Linked DNA regions of Homo sapiens: region 2 is linked to region 1. Evidence: promoter capture Hi-C in human tissues and cell types (Jung and others, 2019). All regions are on one chromosome and are shown on one strand. The core of a region is centred on a gene start or on the middle of the fragment in contact, and the rest is flanking DNA. Distances in the headings are between cores, read along the strand shown.

Region 1 (7,319 bases), core at 3,040-5,539:
TTCCTGGGCTCAAGTGATCCTCCTGCCTTGGTCTCCCAAAGTGTTGGGATTACAGGTGTGAGCCACTGCCCCCAGCAAACCTTAATTACTGAGCTACAGCATGACGCTCCATTCTGTGTTAAAAATCATTCCGATAATGGAAAGAGAGGCCTTCCTGAATGTTAGGGTATAAAGAAGTCAAAAAAATGGTTCCCCTAATGTAAACTATGAACTTTACATTACATGGGTGGTAATGATGTGTCTGTCAGTGCAGTTTCATTGATTGTAATAAGTGTACCACTGTGGTGCAGGATTGATAGTGGGAGAGGTTGTGGGTTTGAGGAGCAGGGGATATATGGGAAGTCTGTACTTTCTGCTCAATTTTCCTGTGAATCCAAAATTGCTCTAAAAGACAAAAGAAGGCCGGGTGCGGTGGCTCACGCCTGTAATTCCAGCACTATGGGAGACCAAGGCGGGCAGATCACAAGGTCAAGAGATGGAGACCATCCTGGCCAACATAGTGAAACCCCGTCTCTACTAAAAATACAAAAATTAGCTGGGTGTGGTGGCAAATGCTTGTAGTCCCAGCTACTCAGGAGGCTGAGGCAGGAGAATCACTTGAACCCAGGAGGCGGAGGTTGCAGTGAGCCGAGATTGCGCCACTGTACTCCAGCCTGGGCAACAGAGCCAGACTCCATCTCAAAAAAAGAAAAAAAAGGCAAAAGAAGATGATGGAGCTGCTTTTAGCAGACAACCTTTTGAATGGAGATATGAACTTAAATATTTTACATTTAGAGAGGCAAAATGTTCCTAGCTGACATACAGAGGCCTAGCTGACATATAGAGCTCCTAGCTGACATACAGAGGTCCATGAGCCAGTGGCTGCCTAGCTGAGATTATTCTCAGCCCTAAATCTTTCAGCCTTTTTCTGGGATCATCCCCTTAATTCTGGTGCTGAGGATCTGTATTAGTGAGAGTGAATAAAATCAGTCATTTTGCAAACACAGCTTTTTTTGTTTTTTTTTTTTTTTTGAGATGGAGTCTTGCTCTATCTCCCAGGCTGGAGTGCAGTGGCATGATCTCAGCTCACTGCAGCCTCCGCCTCCCAGGTTCAAGTGATTCTCTGCCTCAGCCTCCGAGTAGCTGGGATTACAGATGTGTGCCATGACACCCGGCTAATTTTTGTATTTTTTAGTAGAGACAGAGTTTTGTCATGTTGGCCAGGCTGGTCTTGAACTCCTGTCCTCAAGGGATCCGCCTGCCTTGGCCTCCCAAAGTGCTGGAATTTCAGGCGTAAGCCACTGTGCCAGGCCAAAAGCAGTTTTTTAAATGCATTTTATGTCCCAGACTTCATGCTTAATCCATGAAAAACAATGACAAATCACAAACTCCTGACATCAGACTTCAAGACTAGTCTGAAAGAGTTTTTCTCAAAGGATGGTCCATGGATCACCAACTTGGGAAGCACTGAGGACCTTGTAGAAATTATGGAATTCAGGACCCTAATGTAGGTAGATCTTCAGAATAAAAATCTGTGAATGTGTGATCCAGGAATCTGCGGGGGTTTTTTTGTTTTTTGTTTTTGTTTTTGTTTTTTTTTTTGAGATGGAGTCTCACTCTGTCGCCCAGGCTGGAGTGCAATGGCATGATCTCGGCTCACTGCAACCTTTGCCTCCTGGGTTCAAGCAATTCTCCTGCCTCAGCCTCCCAAGTAGCTTGGACTACAGGCACCAGCCACCACATCCGGGTAATTTTTTGTATTTTTCGTAGAGACAGTGTTTCGCCATGTTGGCCAGGCTGGTCTCAAACTCCTGACCTCAGGTGATCCGGCCGCCTCAGCCTCCCAAAGTACTGGGATTACAGGCATGAGCCACCACACCCGGCCTAGGAATCTGCATTTTTAACAGCATTCAAGAACCTTGACACTCAAAATGCAGCATCACTTAGGAGATCATGACTGTTGGAGAGGCCCCATCCCAGACTTACTGTATCAGATTCTGCATTTTGACAGAATTCTTACCCGTTAAAGTTTGAGAAACACCATCCTAGAAGATTCTGTTCCATGTGAATTTTGAGAACCACCAATCCAATGGAAGACTGATCTGTGTAGCACAATGTAATGGGTACATTTATAAAGGAACACATGAGATCCTCTAGGAGTGCATAAAAGGAGCAGGTTCCCCTATCAGGCAAGGTTTCCAGAAGAGGTGTGATGTCATCTGCTTTTTTTTTTTTTTTGAGACAGCGTCTCGCTCTTTTGCACAGGCTGGAGTGCACTGGCTCAATATCAGCTCACTGCAACCTGCGTCTCCTGAGTCCAAACGATTCTAGTGCCTCAGCCTCCTAAGTAGCTGGGATTACAGGTCGTGTGCCACCATGCCTGGCTAATTTTCGTTTTAGTAGAGACAGGGTTTCACTATGTTGCCCAGGCTGGTCTCGAACTGCTGGCCTCAATCAATCCACCCGCCTCGACCTCCCAAAGTGCTGGGATTACAGGCGTGCACCGCCATGCTCTGCTAATTTTTGTATTTTTAGTAGAGATGAGGTTTTATCATGTTGGTCAGTCTGGTCTCGAACCGCTGGCCTCCAGCGATCCACCCGCCTTGGCCTCCCTAAGTGCGTGGATTACAGGCACGAGCTACCACACCCGGCCTTTTTTTTTTTTTTTTTTAGAGTGAAAGTTTATTAAAAAGCTTTAGAGTAGTAATGAAGGGAAGGAAAAGAAGAAAAGAACACTTGGAAGAAGACCAAGCAAGTGACTTGAGAGACCAAGCACCTGTTACCTGCTTCTTAAAGAGCAAAGAGAAATTAGCCAGCCTAAGTAAGAGGATGGGCCAGGAGTGAGAACTCTCATCAGAGGGAATCACATGTACAAAGTCCTGAGGCAAAAGAGAATACTGCAAATATTCTCTTTTGGTAATTAAAACAAAACAAAACAAAAAATGTACCTCTGGCCAGGTGAGGTGGCTCACACCTGTAATCCCAGCACTTTGGAAGGCAAGGAAGAAGGATTGCCTGAGGCCAGGAGTTCAGGATCATCCTGGGCAACACAGGGAGACCTTGCCTTTACAAAAAAAAAAAAAAGAGAAAGAAAGAAAAAAGAAGTTAGCCACGTTGTGGTGATGCGTGCCTGTAGTCCTAGCTACTCAGGAGGCTGAGTTGGGGGGATCCCTTGAACCCAGGAGTTCAGGGCTGCAGTGAGCTATGATCGTGCGACTGCACTCTGGCCGGGGCACAGAGTGAGATCCTGTCTCTAGCAAAACAGAAAAAAAAGTACCTCAAATTGCAGGGTTTAAAGAAAGCTTATTTAAACTTTGAATATCAACCAAAGGAAATTTTTTCTTAACTCAAAGCTTAAAGATTTGCTTATTAATCTTCTGGAGGGTGGGAAGGTGGGAAGAGGAATCAGAGTTTTAGATTTCTGTTTCATCCCTGACCCCTTTGACCTTTTTTTTTTTTTATCATTCCTTTGTTCATTCATTTATTCAGATATATATACATTGGGCCTGTGCTAGGTGCCTACTAGATGGTGGTGAGTGAAACTGAAATAGTGCCTGCCCTCAGGGAGTTTATAGGTGAGATGGGTGAGCGTGGGAAAACCAATAAAACTGATAAATAAGTGTGTACTTATAAAGTGAGAAAATGGCTAAGAAGTGTGCTATGATGGAAAACAGACAGGAAACTGCAAGGAAGGTCTGTCCAATCAGACCAGCATATCCCTGCAAAGCGACCACAGTCACTGCAGGTGGGATGTGGGCGGTCTTACCAGGCAGTCCTGCCCGCGTGCACACACACGCACACCCTATTTTGCTGGGAATCCGCAAGTGGGGGTGAAGACCTCACCTCAAAACCACCCCTTTTCAACCTGCGTAGGAAAGGACAGTGAAAACGGATTTTCACTGCAGCCCCAAAACCGGAAATGAGAAGCAATCTCCAGAATAGTCCCACTTTTGGAAAGAACTTATTTGAGTAATTAATTCCCTTAGACAAGGGAGCTGCTAAAAACCAGCCCGATCCTGACATGTTCTAAGTGACATTTTCCAATCGCAAACACCCATTTTGGCGTTGGGTGGAGCAGTGAGGAGACTCCACGACACACGCCATTGCTTTCACAATGTGTACAAGAGGAACTGTATATAAGAAAGCAAAGAAATAAGGAGGCCTGGCGGGTGCGGTCAGGCCTTGCCTAGCTGCCGGGTCCCTCGGGCAGGAAAGACTCGTCCTCGCGGCCTGGAACCTTGTGTGTCCGGCTCTGGCTGCCCGGGCCGCCGGCGGAAGCATTTCAGAGTGGGACCGCGAGAAGCCGCTTGTAAACAGAGCCGGGCCGGGATGGTCAGCGCCCGGGCGGGCTGTCACCGTGAGGCGGGCGGCAGGCTGCGGGAGTCAAGCCCCTCCAGGAGCGGACTGAAGGCCCCGCAGGTGAATGGAGAGTAGCAGCCGGGGCCCAGGTGAGCATCCGTCTGCTTCTGTGCTGCCTGGCCGGCCAGTTTGGGGGATGGGGTGGGGACGACTGCATTGTAAATATCCGAGCAGCTCCCAGGGATAGCAGTGATTTTGCTGTTTCTTGCATGCTCAGGTTTTTATTACGTGCTGGAGATTGTACCACACTGCAATGGCTAATGGGTGAGGGGAGATTACATGATGCATTGTCTGCTTATTTTTGTGAATCAGGTATGTAATAGGAGGAGAAAGTAGTTGAAATAGTAGGTGATCTTGTTGAGTGCGTTATTAGTATCCCTGCCATCCCCGCCTGGGGATTATAAAACCAAACCCCAGCAGAGCTTTTAACCTACATCAGGCTGGGGCTTCCAGAAAACGATTGTTCTTTCTGTCGACTCTGTCCGTTTTTAATGTATAGTAAATGACACCACATGACTGATGACAAGCATGGTTTGGTCTTGTAGGAAAGAATTATTAAGCTAAAAAATCAAGATAAGAAAATCTCACACTCATCCCTTAAACAAAAATAAATTACTACTGAGATATATATTTGGATGACAAATTGAGACTGGTCTGGATGTATACCTTGCAAAGCAAGACAAATTTGAATTTACCAGGTTAAACTGAGATTGAGCCATGCTGTTGTAAACTTATTTAGAAGTTTATTTCTCTCTTCTTTTTTCTTCCTTGGAAGGGACCAGAGAGAAACAGCTGAATTTTTTTCTCTATATTTTAAGTAATCGTAGTGAGTTGTGATTTGTATTTATAAAGTATTTTATTATAAAATACTACATGTAAATTATAATTGGCATACTTAAAATACAAGGCAGTTTTTGACTGACTGACTTCAAGAAAATGCCTTAACAAAAGCTGGGCTATATATCTAGTCTCTAAAAATATCAGTAGACATTTGTAACCTTGGTCACATAGTCTTTTAGACAGGAGATGAATATTAGGTTAAATTGCACCTACAATAGATAGATATACATAGAAGAAATGATACTAATTCCTGATGAGTTTTTCTTTACAATGAATATTTTTACAATGTCATGGTTTATAGCAAAAACTATAAAGCCAGACTACTTCAGTTTGAATTCCTGCTTGGTCACTTCCTAGTTGTGTAATCTTGGGCAGTTTACTTAGCGCTTCTGTTTCCTAATCTGTAGAATGGGAATAATAATAGTATTGACCTCATTAGGGTTTTTATTATTGTTATTTTATTTTATTTTATTTTATTTTATTTTATTTTATTTTGAGACAGGGTCTTACTCTGTCATTCGGGCTGGAGTACAGTGGCGTGATCATGGCTCACTGCAGTCTCGACTTCCTGGACTCAAGCGATCCTTCCACCTCAGCCTCCCTTGTGGCTGGAACCATAGGCACAAGCCACCACGCCTGGCTAATTTTTGTACATTTGGTAGAGACAGGGTTTCGCCATGTTGCCCAGGCTGGTCTTGAACTCCTGAGCTCAAGGCTTAGAACCGTACCTGGCATATAGTAATTGCTATATACATGTTTGTTAATAAATATATAAAATAAAAATATGCCAGTGTTGAAAGTGGAATGGTGATTACCAGGGCCTGGAGGGAGGCAGGCAATGGGGATTTGTTGTTTAATGCTGCGGTCCCCTGGTGGTTTTTGGCACCAGGGACCGGAAGACCATTTTTCCACAGAGCGGGTGGTGTGGGGTCGGGGAGTAGGGGGGTGATAGTTACGGGATGAAACTGTTCCACCTCAGATCATTAGGCATTAGTTAGATTCTCATAAGGAGCGTGCAACCTAGATCCCTCGCACGCACAGTTCACAATAAGGTTTGCGCTCCTATGAGAATCTAATGCTGCTGCCGATCTGACAGGAGGCGGAGCTCAAACAGCAATGCGTGGCTGGTCCATCGCTCACTGTTGTGTGGCCCAGTTCCTAACAGGCCATGGACCCGTACTAGTCTACAGACATGGGGGTTGGGGACTCCTGGTTTAATGGGTATAGAGTTTCAGTTTTGCAAAATGAAAAGAGTTCTGGAGATTGGCTGCACAACAATGTGAATGTACTTAACAATACTGAACTGTACACTTAAAAATAGTTAAGATGGGGCTGGATATGATGGCTCAGGCCTGTAATTCCAGTGCTTTGGGAGGCTGAGGCGGGGGCATTGCTTGAACCCAAGAGTTGGAAGTTAAGTGAGGTATGATTACGCCACGCACACCAGCCTGGGCAACAGAGCAAGACCATGTCATAAAAAAAAAAAAGGTTAATATGGTAAATTTCATATTATATATATTTTACCACAATTTAAAACTTTTAAATACCAGTGTTAGCAAAGTTATGTTTTCAAAATTTTATTAGCATGCTGCAGCCCCATTCATAGTTAGTTGCCTTTGCCATTATGGAAATACAGCTTCTGGCAGTCAACAGTAAGATTCATTTTTTTAGTAGATTTGTGTAATTGAGGTTTAATTATAAAGAACACAAACAAATGATAAGAAACAACACCTAAGACTGTGGCAGGCAAAATTCTAAAAATGTCTCTCTACTAAAATTGCTGTCTGTAATCTGTGAAACCTGTGCATATAATAAGATATCACTTTCTCAATTATGTTATGTGGCACAGTTTAATTTAAAATGGTGAGATTTTCTGGGTGGGTCTAATCTAATCACAGGAGCCCATACAAGTTGGGAGCTTTCTCTGTCTGGGAAATTGGAGAGACTTAAAGTAGGGGAAGGACTCAACATACTGTGTTGCGGCTTCGAAGGTGGAGAGGAACTGTTGAGAAGGAATTTGGGCAGCCTTGAGGAGTGCTGGAGGCCTAGAGTTGCTGAGGGTGGCCCCAGCTAACAACCAGCATAGAAAGAAATGGGGACCTCTGACATAAGCCACAAGGAACTAGATTCTGTCAACAATC
Region 2 (7,319 bases), core at 2,620-5,119, 370 kb after region 1:
GGGGGTGGTGGCAGGCGCCTGTAGTCCCAGCTACTCAGGAGGCTAAAGCAGGAGAATGGCGTGAACCCGGGAGGTGGAGCTTGCAGTGAGCTGAGATTGTGCCACTGCACTCCAGCCTGGTGACACAGTGAGACTCCAGCTCAAAAAAAAAAAAAAGAAAGAAAGAAAATTATTGCTTCCTTATAATTATTTTATGGAGCACATAAAATTAAGCATATAATATTAAGAAGTCGAGATATCTAAGTTCTAGTTTATATCATGCATGGCTTAAAAACAGTTTTGTAAGACTGAATTATATTAAATAGAATCAAAAGAATAAGAATAAGTAAAGGCAAGTTGTAGAGCCTCAAGTAAGACTTCTGTAGAAGACATGAAGCCACCATCTCTCTTGTAAGCTATTTGCTAATTTGTCTGTTTATTTCCTACTGTGTTCCAAAAAGGGAACAACTAATATTAATAGATTGATGTATATAGCACAATGCAAAGCAGTCAGATCCCACCTGCAACTAGAATTTCTCAAATACTCTACTTGGGTATATTTTGGAACCTCAACTGATTTGGAGGAATACACATGAAAGGCATAATTCCCAGAATGCTAGAATTACAGAGCAACTTCAGAAAAAGTTTAATTACTACCTTCCTAAGGTGTCCCAATGCTGCTGTATGTACTCCTCCTGTTACTTTGCACCTAAAATTTTAAAAATAAATATTTATGCCTGTAAAATTCCTAGTATGGATCGTACACCACTGTTGACCTTCATACTGTGACTGCACTGTCTGCTGAAGGAAAAGGAAATCATATTTGTGGAATATACAGTGTTTGGTTTTGGTATTTAGAGTTCCCAGGCCTGATAGGATTCCCTTTCCATACCTGAGAGGAGGCACAGATGGTTTGTGATGTTGGTGTGTAAGGCTACCGCTGGGATCTCTAGATAAATACATGAGACAATCTGGGGAGAAGTAGAGCAAGAGTGTAGTGGAAATGTTTGGATTGGATTTAATAAACATTAAGACACATGGGAACAAATGCAAAATTCTGGACTCTGTTATAGCCCATGAATGCAATTTGATGCTGTCATTAGTGTTGCCCTCTGCAAAATGAAGTCTTTTCTGACTGAATGTATTTTCTGGTCTGGGGCCATTACTTGTCAACAATTAATGGTGTAATTGTTCTTGGGCCTTTACGTTAAAAATGCATGATGATCTGGCTGGACATGGTGGCTCACACCTGTAATCCCAGCACTTTGGGAGGCCGAGGCAGGTGAATCACCTGAGGTCAGGAGTTCGAGAACTCCAGGCCCAGCCTGGCCAACACGGTGAAACCTTGTCTCTACTAAAAATAAAAAATTAGCTGGGTATGGTGGCATGCGCCTGTAGTCCCAGCTACTCGGGAGGCTGAGGCAGGAGAATTGCTTGAACCCAAAAGGCGGAGGTTCAGTGAGCCGAGATCGTGCCACTGCACTCCAACCTGGGTGACAGAGTGAGACTCCGTCTCCAAAAAAAGGAAAAAGCATGATGATTATGATAATGGAGGAATGGAATTAAAACTCTTTCCCTGTGTAGTCCCAGCTACTCAGGAGGCTGAGGCAGGAGAATGGCGTGAACCCAGGAGGCGGAGCTTGCAGTGAGCCGAGATCGCACCACTGCACTCCAGCCTGGGCGACAGAGCAAGACTCCGTGTCAAAAAAAACAAAACAAAAAACAAAACAAAACAAAAAAACCTCTCCCTGACATCGAAGGCCTTAGACAGCAGGGATCTAACCCACGTTTAAAGCTTAATCTCTCCCCTATGCAAAACTTTGTGAGGAAAACTAGTTACTCAACATTCTCTCTCCACCACTATTGCTTTATTAGTGCTCATTGCTCCTTCTGGAATGCTGCTCTTACTAAGGCTGTCTGGCAGTTCTGTCAAGGATCATTTCAAATGCTACTTCCTCCATGATACACCTCTTCTATGAACTCTTTTCTACTCTGATGAAGTTTCTTTTCTCTTTTTTTTTAATTAAAGATTTTTTAAAAATAAATGTTTATTTTATGTACAAAAAAGCATCATGGTTTTTCATTGGGTAGATGCCTTGGATTATCCTTTGAAGGAAGATCATTTAGTTCAACTTAATGAAACCGATATCCTTCACATACTGACGGAAACACTGGCTGCACTTATTGAGGCCGTATTTCCGGATCAGACCGTGCTGGTTTGAGCAGACGCGACAAGAGCGAGAACCGCGGCCAAATTTTCGCGGGTGGCTCCAGTACAGTTCTTGGTGACCCATCTTGCTCTCAGGAGTTTAACATGGTAAAAGTAAAAAAAAAAAATTTTTTTTTTTTTTGAGGCAGAGTTTCGCTCTTGTCGCCCAGGCTGGAGTGCAGTAGCACGATTTTGGCTCACCATAACCTCTGCCTCCCGGGTTCAAGCCATTCTCCTGCCTCAGCCTCCCGAGTAGCTGGGATTACAGGCATGTGCCACCACACCTGGCTAATTTTGTATTTTTAGTTGAGACAGGGTTTCTCCATTGTTGGTCAGGCTGGTCTCGAACTCCCAACCTCAGGTGATCAGCTCACCTTGGCCTCCCAAAGTGCTAGGATTACAGGCGTGAGCCACTGCGCCTGGCCAAGATTTTTTTTTTCAAGATCAGTTTTAGGTTCACAGCAACATGGAGAGGAAGGTAAACAGATACCTCATATACTTGTCCCCACAGATGCATAACCTTTACCATTATCAACATCCTGCACCAGAGGGGTGCACTCGTTACAACTGATGACGCCATACTGACACATCATATCCCCCAAAGCCCATAGTTTATATTAGTGCTCTCGGTGTTATTCATCCTACGGGTTTGCACAAATGTATAGTGAAATGTATCCACCATGACAGTATCATGCAGAGTATTTTCACTGCACTAACCCCAGGCTCCAACCCTTAGCAACCACCGATATTTTTACTGTCTCCATAGTTTTGCCTTTTCCAAAATGTCATGCAGTAAGCAGCCTTTTTTGGATTGGATTCTTTCGCTTAGTAATATGCATTTAAGTTTTCTTCGTAACTTTTTTTTTGAGACAGCCTCACTTTGCTGCCCAGACTGCAATGCAGTGATGCGATCTCGGCTCACTGCAACCTCCGCCTCCTGTTTTTCAGCGATTCTTTGCCTCAGCCGCTTGAGTAGCTGGGTTTACAAGCATATGCCACCAAACCTGGCTAATTTTTGTATTTTTAGTAGAGATAGAGTTTCACCATGTTGCCCAGGCTGGTCTCCAATTTCTGGCCTCAAGTGATCCACCCGCCTCGGCCTCCCAAAGTGTTGAGGTTACAAGCGTGAGCCACTGTTCCTGGCCGCTTCATAACTTTTTATGGCTTGAGAGCTCTTTTTTTTTTTTTCTTTTCCTTCCCTTCCCTCCCTGCCTCCCCTCTCCCTCCCTCTCTGCCTCCTTTCCCAGCTCCTCTCTGCCTCCATCCTCCCTCTCTCCTCCCCTCCCCTCCCCTCCCCTCCCATTCTCTTCCCTTTCCTCCTTCTTTTCTTGTTTTTTGAGGCAGGGTCTTGCTCTGTCACCCAGGCTGGAGTGCAGTGGTGTGGTCATGGCTCACTGCAGCCTCAACTTCCCGGAGTCAAGTTATCCTCCCATCTCAGCCTCCCAAGTAGCTGAGACTACAGGCATGCACCACCATGCCTAGCTAATTTTTAAATTTTTTGTAGAGACGAGGTCTCACTATGTTGCCCAGACTAGTCTTAAACTCCTGAGCTCAAGTGATTGTCCCACCTCAGCCTCCGAAAGTGCCAGGATTACAGGTGTGAGCCACCATTCCCCACCCTGGACATAAGTTTTTAACTCCTTTGGGTAGACACCAAGGAGCATGATTGCTGGATCATGTGGTAAAAGTATGTTTAGTTTTGTAAGAAACTCCCAAATGGTCTTCCAAACTAGTTGCACCATTTTTGCATTCCCACCAGCAACAGCTCCTGTTGCTCTATGTCCTCACCAGCATTTGTTGTCAGTGTTCTGAATTCTGGTCACTCTAATAGGTGTGAGGTGGTGTCTGTTTGAATTTGCTTTCCCTTGATGACATATGATGTGGAGTATTTCGTCATATGCTTATTTGCCATCTACAACCTGTTTGGTGAGGCGTCTGTTAAGGTGTTTGGCCAATTTTTAAATCAAGTTGTTTTTTTTCTTATTGTTGAGTTTTAAGAATTCTTTGGTCTCGGTGCAGTGACTCATGCCTGTAATCCCAGCACTTTGGGAGGCCGAGGTGGGTGGATCACCTGACATCAAGAGTTCAAGACCAGCCTGGCCAACATGGCGAAACCCCATCTCTACTAAAAATACAAAAATTATCCAGGCGTGGTGACGTGTGCCTGTAATCTCAGTTACTCGGGAGGCTGAGGCAGGAGAATCACCTGAACCCAGGAGGCAGAGGTTGCAGTGAGCCGAGATCGTGCCACTACATACCAGTTTGGCAACAGAGCAGGACTCCGTCTCAAAAAAAAAAAATTCTTTGTATCTTAGGTAATAATCTTAATATATCTTTTGAAGATATTTTGTCCTAGTCTGTGGCTTACCTTCTCATTCTCTTGACATATTCTTTCACAGAGCAGAAGTTTTTAATTTGAATGAAGTCCAGCTTATTTATTATTTCTTTCATGGATCATGCCTTTGATGTTGTATTTAAAAAGTCATCACCATACCTGAGCGTATCTAGGTTTTTCTCCTATATTTTCTTCTAGGAGTTTGTTTGTTTGTTTTTGGAGTTGGAGTCTTGCTTTGTCGCCCAGGCTGGGGTGCAGTGGCGCTATCTCGGCTCACTGCAAGCTCCGCCTCCTGGGTTCACGCCATTCTCCTGCCTCAGCCTCCTGAGTAGCTGGGACTACAGGTGCCTGCCACCATGCCCTGCTAATTTTTTTTTTTTTTGTATTTTTAGTAGAGACGGGGTTTCACCGTGTTAGCCAGGATGGTCTCAATCTCCTGAACTCGTGATCTGCCCACCTCGGCCTCCCAAAGTGCTGGGATTACAGGCGTGAGCCACCGTGCCCGGCCTAATTTTGTATTTTTAATAGAGACAGGGTTTCTCCATGTTGGTCAGGCTGATCTCGAACTCCCGACCTCAGGTGATCTGCCCTCCTCGGCCTCCCAGAGTGCTGGGATTACAGGCATGAGCCACCGTGCCCGGCCTGAAATCTGATGTTTTATTCCTACAGAGCTAGAGCCATTTCCTTGACTATTACAACTTGGTATCCTTTTAGTGCTTGGCTCATTTCATTTCATATGGCAGGTGCTCAAAAAGTATTTATTAAAATGAACTGAAAAATCAGAGACAAACACAAAGGAAATATAAATTAGGTTATACTATTAAAACATAGTTTGAGATGTCTGATGACACAAAAATACTCTCTCAACCCTATTTTTCATTGAGAAAAATGCCTCTTCCCCCAAGTCATTTGTTTTATAGGTTAAGTGCTTACACTTTGAGATCAGTTGTCACTTGGTTCTTGGCAAAGAGAAAATAAGATGTTTTGAGAATTGACGGTCATTCTGGTTGAATACGGATGCCAAGTTTTCTTCTGGGTATAAGAGCCAGATGGCATAACTGTGAACAGGTAACAGCAGGATGAAAGCTATCCCTCTTTGATTGCCAGATACTTGGGTCAGATTTTCAGATGATACATAATTAGTGGACAGGGGCCCTTGGCCAATAGCACATCCATTCACATTTCAATTAGAGTTGCATGGTAAGGGGATGATATTATTATTGCTGGTATTATTTCTGCAGTTGAGCTAAGTACTAAAAAAGGGAGATAGTCCCAAGCCCAAAATGTCATCAGGCCAAAATGAGACTGGGTCACCAGCCCTCCAAATCAAACTTCAGGCTAATTCAATATGATCGAATGAGGTATTAGAAAGTCAGAATTTAAAGCCTGAAGAGTAAGAAAGGGGAGGTGATCAGAAGTGTGGAATACAGCTTTTCTTTTGTGTATTAAAGTTACACTTCAATCTCCTCTCAGAGTGCTTCTTTTTTTTAACCTCTTTCACCCACTTTATTTGTCCTACATCTCAATAAGCAAGCTCCCTGTGGAGCCACTTTTCTCTCTCCATTCAGAGACATGTTCCCATGATTTCTTTCTGCTTGGATTGTATGATTTACCTGGCTGGCCTCCTGTTCCATCAGATTGTTTCCCATAAAAATGCTGATGAACATTCATTTTTGAGAATTTTTCCAATTTTTTTTTTTTGCTTTTTCCTTAAACAAAAAGCCAAACACATAATTTCTCATAGCAAGTAGACTAATTATGATTTAGACCTGTTTTGGGGGACCCATTCATAGTCATAAAAATCAACTTACTGAGGCCGGGTGTGGTGGCTCACACCTGTAATCCCAGCACTTTGGGAGGCCGAGGTGGGTGGATCACTTGAGGTCAGGAGTTCAAGACTAGCCTTCCCAACATGGTGAAATTCCGTCTCTACTAAAAATGCCAAATTAGCCGGGTGTGGTGGTGCATGCCTATAATCCCAGCTGCTCAGGAGGCTGAGGCAGGAGAATCGCTTGAATGGGCGAGGCAGAGGTTGTGGTGAGCCAAGATCATGCCATAGCACTCCAGCCTGGGCAACAAGAGTGAGACTCCATCTCAAAGAAAAAAAAGAAAAGAAAAAAATTTCCTTTTGCCTCATAGTACATAACAACATATAAGTAACATAAATAGGTGTTTATGTAACATAAATAGGTATTTATATAAGTAACATAAATAGGAGGTCTGGAGGTCGAGACCAGCCTGACTAATATGGTGAAACCCTGTCTCTACTAAAAATATAAAAATTAACTGGGCGCAGTGGCAGGTGCCTGTAATCCCAGCTACTTGGGAGGCTGAGGCTTGAGAATCGCTTGAGCCCAGGAGGCAGAGATTGCAGTGAACCAATGTGGTGCCACTGCACTCCAGCCTGGGCGACAGAGCCAGACTCTGTCTCAAAAACAAACAAACAAAAAAACAGCTTTATAGAGATGTAATTCACATACTGTAGCATTCACCCAGTTAAAGTGTACAAAAGAGTACTTTTAGTATGCTTAGAGTTGTACAACATCATCAACCAAAAAAGAAATCCTGTACCCATTAGCGATGAATCTCCATTCTCCACCCCACAACCCTAATTAACCACCATTATTTTTTCTGTCTCTATAGATTTGCTTCTTCTCGATATTTCACATAAATATCATCATACAATACATGTAGCCACACATACATACATAAATATGGTCTTTTGTGACTGACTTCTTTCACTGAGCATAATGTTTTCAAGGTTTATCCATGGTGTAACAAATACAGTACTTCATT

What was found. Contacts are between HindIII fragments. The study calls those that stand out against the background at their distance.
Region 2: a fragment that was not itself captured here is called in contact with the fragment with the promoter of PLEKHM3 in region 1 in 1 of the 25 tissues and cell types used here (spleen).

The regions. Positions count from the first base shown.
Region 1 is chr2:208,022,497-208,029,815 of GRCh38, reverse strand. It overlaps PLEKHM3 (pleckstrin homology domain containing M3), which reads left to right and starts at 4,289. Exons shown (of 8, transcript NM_001080475.3): 1 at 4,289-4,427. The HindIII fragment of the contact is 4,894 bases long and covers 2,978-7,319 here.
Region 2 is chr2:207,649,735-207,657,053 of GRCh38, reverse strand. It overlaps the pseudogene RPS29P9. Among named protein-coding and RNA genes, the nearest start is that of LINC01857, 9.0 kb to the left of the region's middle. The HindIII fragment of the contact is 8,714 bases long and covers 1-7,319 here.